3 separate regions of the Homo sapiens genome follow, and all the other regions are linked to region 1. The links are contacts of gene promoters, found by promoter capture Hi-C in human tissues and cell types (Jung and others, 2019). All regions are on one chromosome and are shown on one strand. Each heading gives the region's core, a stretch centred on a gene start or on the middle of the fragment in contact. The rest is flanking DNA. Distances are from core to core; before and after follow the strand shown. Region 1 holds the start of UGGT2 (UDP-glucose glycoprotein glucosyltransferase 2). Region 2 overlaps MBNL2 (muscleblind like splicing regulator 2). Region 3 has its middle 60 kb from the start of LINC00456.

Evidence for each region. The method cuts DNA at HindIII sites, captures the fragments that hold promoters and counts their contacts. A contact is called where the count stands out against the background at its distance.
Region 2: a fragment that was not itself captured here is called in contact with the fragment with the promoter of UGGT2 in region 1 in 1 of the 25 tissues and cell types used here (dorsolateral prefrontal cortex).
Region 3: a fragment that was not itself captured here is called in contact with the fragment with the promoter of UGGT2 in region 1 in 1 of the 25 tissues and cell types used here (dorsolateral prefrontal cortex).

Annotation. Positions count from the first base shown.
Region 1 is chr13:96,050,975-96,055,661 of GRCh38, forward strand. It overlaps UGGT2 (UDP-glucose glycoprotein glucosyltransferase 2), which reads right to left and starts at 2,427. Exons shown (of 39, transcript NM_020121.4): 1 at 2,181-2,427. The coding sequence starts at 2,338. RefSeq lists an enhancer at 2,189-2,688. The HindIII fragment of the contact is 5,467 bases long and covers 45-4,687 here.
Region 2 is chr13:97,316,881-97,321,567 of GRCh38, forward strand. The region is part of intron 2 of MBNL2 (muscleblind like splicing regulator 2); the gene reads left to right. Among named protein-coding and RNA genes, the nearest start is that of MBNL2, 97 kb to the left of the region's middle. The HindIII fragment of the contact is 6,416 bases long and covers 1-4,687 here.
Region 3 is chr13:97,117,052-97,121,738 of GRCh38, forward strand. No RefSeq gene overlaps it. Among named protein-coding and RNA genes, the nearest start is that of LINC00456, 60 kb to the right of the region's middle. The HindIII fragment of the contact is 3,950 bases long and covers 852-4,687 here.

The DNA of each region.
Region 1 (4,687 bases), core at 1,177-3,676:
TTACTGGGTATATACCCAAAGGATTATAAATCATGCTGCTATAAAGACACATGCACACACATGTTTATTGCGGCACTATTCACAATAGCAAAGACTTGGAACCAACCCAAATGTCCGTCAATGATAGACTGGATTAAGAAAATGTGGCACATATACACCACGGAATACTATGCAGCCATAAAAAAGGATGAGTTCATGTCCTTTGTAGGGACATGCATGCAGCTGGAAACCATCATTCTCAGCAAACTATCACAAGGATAGAAAACCAAACACCTCATGTTCTCACTCATAGGTGGGAACTGAACAATGAGAATACTTGGACACACAATGGGGAACATCACACACCAGGGCCTGTTGTGGGGTTGGGGGAGCGGGGGATAGCATTAGGAGATACACCTAATGTAAATGATGAGTTAATGGGTGCAGCACACCAACATGGCACATGTATATCTATGTACCTGCACGTTGTGCACATGTACCCTAGAACTTAAAGTATAATAATAAAAAAAATAGCTGGGACTTAATTAAACTAAACAGCTTTTGCACGGCAAAAGGAATAGTCAGCAGAGTAAACAGACAACCCACAAAACGGGAGAAAATCTTCACAATCTATACATCTGAAAAAGGATTAATATCCAGAATCTACAAGGAACTCAAATCAGCAGGAAAAAAAAAACAGTCCCATCAAAAAGTGGGCTAAGGACATGAATAGACAATTCTCAAAAGATATATAAATGGCTAACATGAAAAAATGCTCAACATACTAATGATCAGGGAAACACAAATCAAAACCACAATGCGATACCACCTTACTCCTGCAAGAATGGCCATAATAAAAAAATAAAAATAAATAATAGATGTTGGCGTGGATGCAGCGAACAGGGAACACTTCTACACTGCTGGTGGGAATGTAAACTAGTATAACCACTATGGAAAACAGTGTGGGGAGTCCTCAAAGTACTAAGAGTAGATCTACCATTTGATCCAGCAATCCCACTACTAGGTATCTACCCAGAGGAAAAGAAGTCATGAAAAAGATAGTTGCACAAGTATGTTTATAGCAGCACAATTCACAAGTGCAAAAATGTGGAACCAATCCAAATACCCATCAATCAACGAGTGGATAAACTGTGGCATATATATGATGGAACACTACTCAGCCATAAAAAGGAATCAATTAATGGCATTCACAGCAACCTGGATGAGATTAGAGACTATTATTCTAAGTGAAGTAAGTCAGAAATGGAAAACCAAATATAGTATGTTCTCACTGATATGTGGGAACTAAGCTATGAGGATGCAAAGGCATAAGATTGACACAATGGACTTCGGGGACTCGGGGGAAAGGTTGAGAAGGGAGTGAGGGATAAAAGACTACAAATTGGGTGCAGTGTATATACTGATGGGGTGATGGGTGTACCAAAATCTCAGAAATCACCACTAAAGAACTTACTCATGTAACCAAACACCACCTGTTCCCCAATAAACTATAGAAATGAAAAAAAAAAAGAACTTTTAGCATCAAATACATGAACTTATGTGGAGTCATGGAGTCTCTTTTTAGGGACACACACTGTTGCTGTGGTGAACAGCCATTAAGTCATTGGTGTAAAACTTCATTTTTGCTAAGAGAAAGAACTTTCTAATTTTACTCAACTAGAATACTAAAGGGCAAAATGCAATAGCTACAAGTTTTGTTCTGCAGAGTAAATGACAGGTCATGAACTAATTCCGTTGGAAGAGATACAGGAAAAATATTACCTTGCAGGAAGCTGCCCTCCCCATAGTAAGCCTAGGAGCTGATGGTATGATGTCATCATTACGAAACTAGGTACTTTAAGCACTGTCTGAACAGAACTGCCTACCCCAGTAGAAGCTCTTGCGTTAAGTGCCACGCGTAAATGCTAATACATCCCAACGTATTAAAGCAGGGCAGGGAAGCTTTAAAAATCGTAGGTAAAGTAAGACTGAGGGGGAAAGGAACTGCAAGTGAGTGCTGCACGGGAACCGAGAAGCCGCCCCGGGTCGGGAAGGAAGGAGGTGGTGATGCTCAGGGCCAGAGCGGGGGCGTCTGGAGAACCCGGGTGGGAGCCAGACACCCGCTGCGAGCACGAAGAAAGCGCGGCTGAGGGTGGCAGCGCGCCCACACCCGCCCGGACGAGGGCCCGGCCCGCACCCACCTTGCCTCCAGCAGCAGCGGGGTCTCGGGCCACTTCGCGGCCAAGTGGGCAGTCACCGACTTGGACGCGGCGACCGTCCCGGAGCCGAGCTGCGAAAGCCACAGCGCTGTGGAGCCTAGTAGCAGCCGCACCACGTTCGTGGCTTTCGCTGGCGCCATGGCACGGAGAGAAAAGCGCGAGTCCCTCGGACCCGGTACCCACAGTCTGTGGCCGCCACGCTTCGGCCGGCTCTTCCCGCTGCGCGGCTGCCCACTTCCGGTGGGAGGAGCTCGAGTCCGTTACTGGGTGCCGGGTCCAGACCGGCGCATGCGTGTCCCGCTCCGGCGCGGTTTAGTGGGTGCGGCCTGGAGAGCCCACGCCAGCCGGACACTGGGCCACGTCGGAGCCGCCGGGGCGGCGCCGGGTTGCTGAGCGGCGTCACAGATGCTCCCGCGGGTCCGCTCCCGCGGGTCCATTCCCAGGACTTTGGGTTCTCGGACAGAGGCCTTAGGACACGGGGCGGGAAGCTGGCTCTCCAGACCGAACTAGGGCTCTGGAGTTGCCAAAATCTGGAAGCAAAGTCAGGACCACTTGCATATTGTCCACCTTTTACATAGGAGGAAAATAAGTCCAGTTAAAGTTGAAGTCCCCACCTCACGCAGTTCTCAAGTGTTACTACAGGTTGGAATCACCTGGGAGAGCTTTTATAAGGCCGCCGCCAAGGCCACGCCCCGTACCTGAGAATCTCGGGAGGGGGGGTGAGATGCGGCATCAGTAGTATTAGTTAAAATCCGCAGGCCGGGCGCGGTGGCTCACGCCTGTAATCCCAGCACTTTGGGAGGCCGAGGCGGGCGGATCACGAGGTCAGGAGATCGAGACCATCCTGGCTAAAACGGTGAAACCCCGTCTCTACTAAAAATACAAAAAATTAGCCGGGCGTAGTGGCGGGCGCCTGTAGTCCCAGCTACTTGGGAGGCTGAGGCAGGAGAATGGCGTGAACCCAGGAGGCGGAGCTTGCAGTGAGCCGAGATCCCGCCACTGCACTCCAGCCTGGGCAACAGAGCGAGACTCCGTCTCAAAAAAAAAAAAAAAAAAAAAATCCGCAGGTGATTCCAGTGTCCAATCATGTTAGGAAACCCGTGACTTACGGGTGGCTCTCAAACTTTAACCACTTGCTTGTTAAAACACTGCAGAGTGGTGGGCCTCCCCACAGTGTTTCGGATTCAGTAGAGCCCTTGCGGGGGCCGAGAACTTGCATTTTATTTCTCCCAAGTTCGCAGATAATACTAGTGGCTAGAAATCACACTGGAGCCTTTTCCATTGGAAGGTGTGGTCCAGGGTAGGCTTCAGCTGTGAGCTCAATGGAAATGCAGAAGCTCAGGCCCCGCCCCAGACCTAATGAATCAAGATCTCCAATTTAACGGGAACCACAGGTGATTCCTATGCACAGGAAAGGTGGAGAAGAGTGATTTAGAGGATTACATTTAAAAGTGCACAGAAAAGTGCCAATAAGCCTGAGCATGGTGGCTCACGCCTGTAGTCCCAGCACTTTGGAAGGTCGAGGCGGGAAGGTAGCTTAAGCCGAGGAGGTAGAGGCTGCAGAAAACGGTGATTGCGCCACTGCCCTCCAACCTGGGCGAAAGAGGGAGACCGTGTCTCAAAAAAACAAACAAACAAAAGGCCAATACGTGATAGTTGTTTTGTCAGAGTAAAATATATGGTAAAAGAGTTTAGCGGATGCACGGATTCATTGCTTTTTTTCTCTCCTGTTACTCCTTTGCCCTGCAGGGAAGCTGGATCTCTTGAAGTTGCGGAAACATAGTCATTCCCTTTTTTCGTTTCATTTGCTTAGTCAGTACCCTTCCTTAGAAAACCCTATTCCGCTAAGCAGTTCCACGAATTTCCAGAATAATTTCTCACTTCCAAAGTTTAGCCTTCATTTCCTGATTTATCCTACTTGGTATGATCTATCCTTACTTTAAATTTCCTCTTTATTGTAACTGCCATATAGCACTTAAGTTCTCACTTTAATACTTGAGTACGCTACTTACTTATTTCTCCTGTGAGAGATAGTATATTCCCCCAGAACTCATGCCTTGTTCATCTTTGGCATCCCGTGCAGTACCTAGCACAATACTTCACATTCACATGTTATTTGGGGACTCCATGAAGATTGAAGAACCCTTGCTTTATGGAAAGAATGTAGAAAGCTAAGGCAAATGCACTTCATTTCTATCCATAGTGTATACGAGAAAAATACATTACGAATCTTTCACAATTATTTGCTTTAATTAACTCCCCATTTCCACTCATATTTAGACCGAAATTTTTATTGAGATTGTGGGATTAAGGAAATAAAATATTGACAGTGAATGTCTTACATGTCAGCATATCCAATGGACTGCAAATCTTTAAGAAATAATTGGCCATATAAAAGGCACATTAAATAGACTATTAAAGGACACTAATAAAATGTATATTAGTAAAAATTTCACTATATGTGAGTTCAGAATAGTGAGAATGCTCAT
Region 2 (4,687 bases), core at 1,449-3,948, 1.3 Mb after region 1:
TGGACAGGGCCATTTGTGAGTTTTGTTGTTGATATCCCATGTCCCTGGAACACTGCCTGGCCCAAGGTAGACTTGCAACATATGCCTGTGGAGTGAATGAAGGGGATAGTGCAGCAGAGGGTATAGGAAGTAGAGAAGGCATCTGTTGGCAGCACTGTCACACATCTGATGGCCTGGACCAGCCTGACAATGCCAGTGGGAACGGAAGGTGGCAGGGGATGCAGGAGACAGGGTGGGTATGTATCTAGGGCTGGGTAACTCAATGTGGGAGATGCCAAGCTTTGTGATGGATGATGCATCAATTGGGCTTCAGTCCCGTGTGGTCCTATAAGTGTCACTCTGTTCCAGGGCCGGGGATCATATGCTTTTCGCTGCTGAACTGTCTGTGGATCACAGAGGCAACCAGGTAAAACTGGGTGGATAAAATGAACAAAATATCAATCCTGTAAAAATAGCTCAGAACTGCGTACCCTCCCAGTGGACCCCACAGAGTGTCAAAGTATGACATGCTCAGGACAGGCACGTGTTTCATATTGGGGTCATCTGAAGGAGGTGGACAGTTCTCCCACCCTACTGTTCCTAGGGAAAATTCCCTCATCTGGGGCTTTAGTCTTTTGCCATAAGCAAAGCATTGATATGTGCCTAAAGTATGCATGCAGAACTCTTAAATGATAGTTTTATGTATGCATAATCCTTTTGGCTGTCTGAAATCCAGGTGCCTCATTTGCAGATTCTGAAAGCTTGTGATCTCCCTGTAACAGGGCAGTCCCAGAGGCTGTTAGTGGTGCCTTGTCTTGCCCTAATAGACGGAGATATGATGGCAGTGGCCTACTTTGGTTATTCACTTCAATTATTAGTTTGAAGTATTAAAAGCCAACCATATTTATAAAATATACTCGATCACTTTAATGGGATTTTGAAAACTGTATGATTTATGAAACATTACATAGATCCTTCTGGCTAATATTATACTTAAATATTACTTATTACCATGCTTTCTTCCCTTCCATTCATGTGTATATGCATTGCAGATTTATGTATGTAGAGTTTCTCAAAGATAAGAACAGTTTGCTTTTCATCTTTGTAGCCCCTTGGGCCTAGCACAGTACCAGACATAAAGTAGGAATCAATAATTTGTATTCAGAGAGTGTGGTGGTTCTGGAGCCAGGCTGAGTAGGTTCAAGTCTGGATCTTCCTCTTACTAGCTGTGTCACTTTAGACAAGTTATCTAACCTCTCTGTGCCTTGGTTTCCACATCTGCAAAATGGGCATAAAAATAAGACCTACCTGAAAGGCATATTGTGAACACTAAGGAGATCATTCCTGTAAAGCACTTAGAGGCATGCTTGGCACATTGTGAGAATTCGGCAAACATAATTAGTTTTTATAACCATATGAATGTGTGGAAGAAGTATAGTGATTAAGAGCAGTGGCTTTGGAGTCACACTGCCTGGGTTCAAATCCTGGTTCTGTATCTTGCTACTTGCACACCCTAGGACAAGATCATTCATCTCCTCAGGCCTCAGTTCTCTGTCTGTCAAATAGGGATATTAAGAGCACCTCCCCCTCTCAAATGTTTGTCTGAGATTTTGCATGTGAAACAGCACGGTGTCTAGCATGCATCTAATGAGTAAAAATAATAACAATGGTATTTGACTGCATTCAAAAGCTGTTACCAAGTATTATTACCATCTATGTAATTCCTTTTTAAAAAATAAAAAATTGGACTTCATAATAATGCATCAATTCAGTTTGTAAATACATTTGACTAGCAGTTTCTGGACTACCCAGAGCTTAAGTATCCAGCCAGCAGTGACAGATGAAGAACAGCTGGGGTTTGCTGAGGGAAAAGACTTCTTCCACAGTTTACAGGCAGGTCCTAAGAGAAAGAGGAAGTAATGTCATAGCTCACTAAGTTGGGCTGAATTTGACCAGAAGAGACCCCAGGGTCTGAAGTTAGTTCTGCCCACTGGGACACAGAGATGGAGATTTCAATGCTGTGAGCCTGGGTGTGTTGTCTCAAGGTCTCCGCCCTCTCTAGGTACGTACTGGAGAAACATGCAGCAGCAGGAATTCTGAGAAAAATTAGCAGGTATCTACTGAGGGTGGACCACAGTGAAGAAAAACCCTGGATGGGGACCCTCAGAAAGGGTGAGTGAGCAACAGCTGCACAGCAGGGGACACAGGACCCCAGCCTACAGGCAGGGTTTTCTGGAGGCAAAGGCAAAAGGCAGAGCTTCACTCTGGTAAGGAGCCTGGAGGGAGGCAGGTTCTCAGACCTTGAACTTGGAGGCAAAAAGAGAAGCCTGCGGGACCCTGTAGCATAAGACGTGGGACACCCGGCGGGTGTTAGGGCTTGAAACAGAGCAGCTGTCTAGTCAAAGCTAGGGCCATGAGTCAGCATCAGCTGGTGCAAAGATTCAGTGTCACTTGAGGATTGATTCTGGGGACTTGGGTCTCACTGGGGGAGTGCTGGCCAGGCGGGAGCTCTGGCAATGACCAAGGGCACTAAAGGCTGGGCCTGATGAGAAGGAATGAATAGGCAGGGTGGTCGTGAGGGTGATAGAAGACTCCAGCTGAATAGAGCAGGCCTCTCCCCTGTCCTCCTCCCTACCACTGTCCCTCTGTATGTCAAAGTGCCAGCGAAGATGACCCCACCCGTGTCACGGGTGAGACTCTGCCAATGCACATCTATCTAGCTTGTAAAAGCAACTCCAAATTAATTGCTGGCCACATTCACCCATTTTCTTTGACTTCCATCCTGCTAGACTGAATGATTTTCTTTCCCCTCCATGCAATTTTAATATCAAGGATGATTTTTATCAAGTCATTCTCTGTAATCAGAATACAAAAATTATCCCAACATTTCTCTTTGAAAATGGATCTTCAGAGACCCAGTAGCCCTTTATGCATTACTAATGAGTTCTTTAGTGAAACATTTTGTCTTTTACTAAAATAAATCTCTTCTATTAAATCTTCCGTGGGAAAAATCGGATGGCATTTAAGCTGACTAGTTTCACTGGTAGAAAATCATCGTACTTGTTAGGGATTTGGGGGTTGTTATAGTTTATTTTTGAGCAAATAGGGAGATCTCATTACCTAAGATCATGAAAAAAATTGAATACACATTCACAGAAACAACTCTTAGTGTTGGAGGAGACTGTAGTATTTTGCTGGTGTAACCGCCAATCTCAAGACAAAATACATTATCTAACATTTGTTAGAGGTGGCTGTGCTCGCTTCCCAAGGCTGCTATAACCAGTATCATAAACTGGATGGCTTAGAGCAACAGAAATTTATATTCTTACAGTTGTGGAGGCCAGAGGTCCAAAATCCAAGGGTCAAAGGCTATGCTCCCTCAGAAGATTCTCTGGAAGGGTCTTTTTTTTTTTTTTTTGAGACAGTCTCTCACTCTGTCACCCAGGCTGCAGTGCAATGGTGCGATCTCGGCTCACTGCAACCTCCGCCTCCCGGGTTCAAGAGATTCTGCCTCAGCCTCCCGAGTAGCTGGGACTACAGGTGTGTGTCACCATGCCCGGCTAATTTTTTGTATTTTTAGTAGAGCCGGGGTTTCACCATGTTAGCCAGGATGGTCTTGATCTCCGGACCTCATGATCCACCCACCTCAGGCTCCCAAAGTGCTGGAATTACAGGCGTGAGCCACTGCTCCCAGCCTGGAAGGGTCTATTTTAGACCTCTCTCACAGCTCTGATAGCCTCAGCCATTCCTTGGCTTAAAGATGGCCATCTTCGGCCACGCAGGGTGGCTCATGCCTATAATCCCAGCACTTTGGGAGGCCGAGGTGGGTGGATCACCTGAGATTAAGAGTTCGAGACCAGCCTGGCCAACATGGTAAAACCCCATCTCTATTAAAAATACAAAAAATTAGCCGGGCATGGTGGTGGGTGCCTGTAATCCCAGTTACTTGGGAGACTGAGGCAGGAGAATCGCTTGAACCCGGGAGGCGGAGGTTGCAGTGAGCCGAGATCGCACCACTGCACTCCAGCCTGGGCGACAGGATAAGACTCTGTCTTAAAAACAAAAAGATAGCCATATTTTCCCTGTGTCTCTTTCACATCGTCTTCCCTCTATGCATGGATCTCTGTGACTAAATTTTCTCTTTTTATAAGGACACCAGTCATACTGGATTAGAGTCCACCCTAATGTCCTCCCTGTAACTTGATTACATCTGTCAAGACCCTACTTCCAACTAGGATCCCATGCTGAGATTCTGTGGGTTAGGACTTCCACATGCAGGGAGACACAATTCAACATGGTCAACCAGGGCACTCTGGCCTTGTCACAGTATATTTATAATAAGATGTGATATTCAAAATATTTTACCATAAGTACCTCCCAGATGGGCAGCAGCCAATCAGAGTGCACCACAGCTAGTCCCGGAAACCCCCTGCTGTGTGGGTTTAACTCTTTGATTGCTGGGGTCCAGGAGGGGAAGATGCTGGGACTGTGGAAGAGGCACTGGAGTGGCCAGAGAAGCAGGGAAAACACTTGACATTTAACAGGCTTGGGACAGTGTCTGTTTTCTACTATCCACTGTCACCTCCATCGAGTGCATTATCATGCAAAGTCACTCATTCTGTTTTAAACAAATCTCACATATTGAGCCAAAAATCTGTAACCCCATAGTGTCTCCCATGGACCACAGCAGGCGATGGAGAAGGCACGT
Region 3 (4,687 bases), core at 1,577-4,076, 1.1 Mb after region 1:
ATACCTTTCTCTCTCTCTTGTTTTCTCTCTCTGTGTTTGGTATTATTTCATGTTAATTCAGATAGCCCTAAAAGATTTTTTAGTATATTTCCCCTCCAACAGAGTGCTTCCATTTTTATTAATCTATATTAATGTATATGTAATATACATTACATATAATGTAAATCATAGTTTAATGGGAATGCACCATTTAATGCATTTCTTTCATTTTGATGGGAGAAATAGCCTTGGAATTTCCTGAGGCTTCAACAATCAAGTTATTAATAGAGAAATAAAGTAAAAATTATAAAGCAGGAAGGGGGCCTATAAAGAAAGACAGAAGACAGAGTTGCAGGAAGGTTTTCCCAGTCTATGAACCCTTGATATCTCTCTGACCCATCGCTGCTTTATGTAGGATCCAAAGATTCTTCTTGTCCCAGTTATTCAAGGCCATGTTCTTAACTCTGAGAGCAGTTGTTAACTGGGACATATCAATGTTTGGGACTGTCTTCAGGCTAAGTGTGAGTTAAGTGGCCTTTCCAGTCTCCCACGCTGTAGGGAGGTACTCACATGCAAAAGCTTAATAGGCTTTAACTTTATGCTAACAGTGTGAAGTGCTAATAGTTGGATTTCAGACATCAAACTGGTTTAGGGCATAGAATGAGGAAACAACTTCTCTAGATGGATGGCCCTTATCAGCGCCTCCAGAATCACACCTGTAGGTCATTGTTACTTCCATTTGCATGTGTGGCCAGCTGTGTTGGTCCGTCAGGAATGCAGAAGACCAATCTGCCCCACATCTCCATTGTTGCTGGACTTCTCCATTTATACATCCTAACGGGCTTCACACAGAACCTATCCAAAACAGAACCACACAAGTTCAAGTTGTATTCCATGCTCCACATCTCAATGAGCAGTTGTTACTCAAGGTTACCCAGACCACAGGTTAGTGAGTCCCATTTGGACTCCTCTCTACCTGCTCTCCATTCAGTTGTCAAGTTCTATCAACTTCTTTTTCAATTTCCTTTCACATTTCTCTTTCTTTCTAGCTCCAATACTATTGCTCTAATTCAGGCTACTTTAATTTTTTCCTAGTCTGGAAGAATGTTTTATTCATAGGACATTTTCAATAACTATCAGTTAAATGGCTGGACGACTATAGAAGCTTCCTTTTAACTGGCAATCCTGCCTCCCAGACAATTGTGCTATATGCCTTTCATTTATACCCCATGCTTTAATGAAAGTTCTAGAACATAAAGTGGATCATGTCGCTCTTGGAGGTAGTAGCACTGCACACACCATACACCCCATCTTGCTTGTCTTACCCAACATGGTCTCACCTGCTCTTCAATCTGTCCTTCCAAGCACTTACGTAGCATCTGCTGCCTCCACAGGATCTACTGGACTTTGTTCCTCAGTGTTCATCCCACGCCCCAGCCTTACCAAATTCCTGTTTCAATCTGACCCATTTCTGGGAGTTATTTTAGTATCACATCTTTACCTCCACTCGGGATATTGTTTTTCACTTAGGCCTTGTGCCAGATTATCTCTTTCCCCCTTTCTGTGTTCTGGATCACAGGGGCTTCGAAGCCTGGGAACTACATTTCCCAGAAGCCTCCTTCAATTCTGTGAATAGGAAGATCTTAAGTGAAATTCAGAGGTAGAAGAGAAGGAGACAGAAGTATTGTTCCTGTGGCAGCAACAGTCAGGTTTAGGGACTTTTGCAGATGGCCTGCGTGAGATTTGACCATGACTTCCAAGAGTCCTTTTGTAAATCACCTATAGGGCTGTTGCAGGCATCTGAGATCTTGATTAAAGTTTCCTGCAATTCCTGAACTTCCTGATTTCCTAAATTCTTTTTTAATATTTTTACTTTTTAATTATTAATTGACAAATTATAGTTGTAAGTTTTCTTAAATTCTAAAAGCAGCTCTTACTGACCTTTGTTCCCTTAGCCTCCCAAAGGTCTTGTGAACCTTAAACTCCCTGCATCAAATCTTTTCTGCTGGAAATATCTGCAGTGGTTTCTCCTTTCTCAACCAAACCTTGACTACCACAAATCAGGCAGTCTATTATATGGAAATGATTTTAAGCCAAGTCTCAGCTTCAAGCTTGCTAAGATGTAGCCTTTTATTCCCTCTGTGGTTGCAGAAATCTATAAGATTCCATGCCTGCTTACGTTCCTGGCTTGTGTTTTGGGTCCATTGCATGCATTCAACCCCACGTGGTGGATCCCAGCCCACTTGGCTAAGACTTTGGTGCCTTTCCTAAATTTTACTGGCCTGTCATATGAGGGAACTTAACTCTCACCCCTTAACTCTCATGCCTACTCTACCTCTTGAAGTCGTGCTCTGAATTGGACAACCTTTCTGGAACCAAAGGGCTGCCATCACTCAACTTCAATATTTACTACTGCCTGGAAACATCTGCTCTAGTTCTTTACTCATTCTTTGGCTATAATCTCCTTTTTGGTTCCAGTCAATGTGATTAACCATTAAATCCTCGCCCCCTCTCTCCAGGTGACAAATCATACGCCAACTTTGCTGTTGTGACCTGGTCATGCCTCATCCCTCTTTTGTTCTAGTCTCTTTTCTTCTATTCTAGTCTGGACTTGAAGTCCCAGCACACTCCTCAGTTGGGCCTGTCAAGGTTATAGCATTAAGCTAATAACATAGCAATTCCTTAAAAGCATAGCATTTTTCTATCCTGTCATTTCACTTCAAGTCCTTCTTGTAGCCAGCCTCAAGTTGGGATATAACTTATAATTACAAAAGGAAGTTACTAGGATCATAATGCATATATATTATATTATTGAACATAGAAGCATTACTCTGGTCAGAAACACTCATGGCAGATCTTCAAATTCCTGATGGCACCTGCTCTTTTCTTGCTACATACAATATTACATCATGGTAACTTGTTTTACTTTTTTCTAATATACACTATTTCCAAGAGCGTATTCATTGTCCTGAGGAATCTCTCATTCCATATTTCAGGGATCAGTGATATGTGTATACTCCACTTTTGAATCAGCCCTCTGTAGTTCCTGTGTGATGCTGAAAGAGTTCTTTCTTTTCTCTGGCATTCTCTCGGCTTTTCCTCTCTGGAAAATTTTTGTAACCACATGTGTACATTTAGTACCACAGACTTTTCTTCAAGTGATAATTTATGGAAAACCAATCCATGTGCATTACGAGTGCCAATGTTGTAAGTCCATATAATCATATAATTTCAGGATCAGTTTCAGCCAGAAAACAGAGAAATCAATCTTTGGTATGCTGGCACAATCCTCATATCCACATTCAGAAGGGGATACTGAGTGGGAAAAATCATGGCAGTAATCATTTTACCTGCCTCTGCTCTTAATATTTCAGTGGAGAAATAATTTCTGCTAAAAATTAGGTATGGACATGCTACCTATTCTTCTTGGAAATATTTTAAAAGAGATTCCACCCACCTATCACATGGTTCTGCAGGATGAATCATGAGCTCTGTAATGCCACCAAAAGGCAGATTCTCACACATTTGCTCATGGACCTCCTGGCTGGAGAGATTGGCTGTTCAGATCTGTCATGTTTAGTCATGTACCAGTGATGTGCACTTTCCTTGGCACAAGGGCAATGGGGTCACTCCATTCGTCTTCAATGTCTGACTTCATTTTAGGGCTTCATCCTTTTCTTCTCTCTCTTGCCATCAAGTCTTGCTTCGGTCAGTTTCCAAAATCCAATTGCCTGCTTGCTGATGAGGGTTTCCATGGCAACTTCCATTGGTGGCATTATTGCCTCCATTGCTCCATTTGGTCTCTGCTTTGTGGCACTAAGCTCTTCTTTCCAGGTTAGACCTAAACATTCCTGATTCTCTTTCCAGCCTCTTTGTTCTTATATTGTGCTTGACTTGGATCAGAGCCTCTCTGAGTTCAATTTCCATATTGAATTTTGTTCTCAGACCAACCAGAGAGAATCAGAATCCCAGTCCACCCTGCAATAAACATATACCCATTCCTGGACCCCACCTAGAAATAATTCTACATGTTAACTACTTGAAAACTCACTTAATCATCATTTCTTTCTTATTGTCTTATATATATCTTTTTTCAGGTGCATTCCTCTGGTTGGAAATGTTTATTAGTCATTCACTCCTTAGTGTAAAATGACTCTATCACCCAGTGAGAAATTGGCAGTCCTGAATAAAGGTGGAAGATTGAGAAGTGGGCGTGTGGGGCAAGAGGTCATTTTTAAATGTAAAAAACTATGAAACAAGAAGGGAGATGATTCCTTCTATAGGGAGATGTTCCAAAAACATAAAGATTCTAGAGCTGGAGGAAATGAGACAGCACTTTGAGGAACAGAGTTTGGCGGTGCTGTTGATAAAGGAAGGTAAAAGGACAAAATCATTCAATTTGTAGACTTCTTCAGCACATTGGTGACAGTGCCTGCAACTGACTACTGGAAGCCACTGCCTTTTGCCCTTGACATGCTTTGGTAGGTTGTGTTGCCTATGTTTGTGCTGTATGTTACCAGATACAAATTTAAATCTTCCTCATGTAGTATTCTTAAAGAAACATCAGACGCATTTCAGATCTATCCCACTCTACCTAGAAGATGGACTTCGTTTCTTCCTTCCACATTCTTATTCTCTTTCCTCCTCTCCACTTTAATCTCTTCAGGAAAAGGCACATCAGTAGCCAGGCACAGTGGCTCATGCCTGT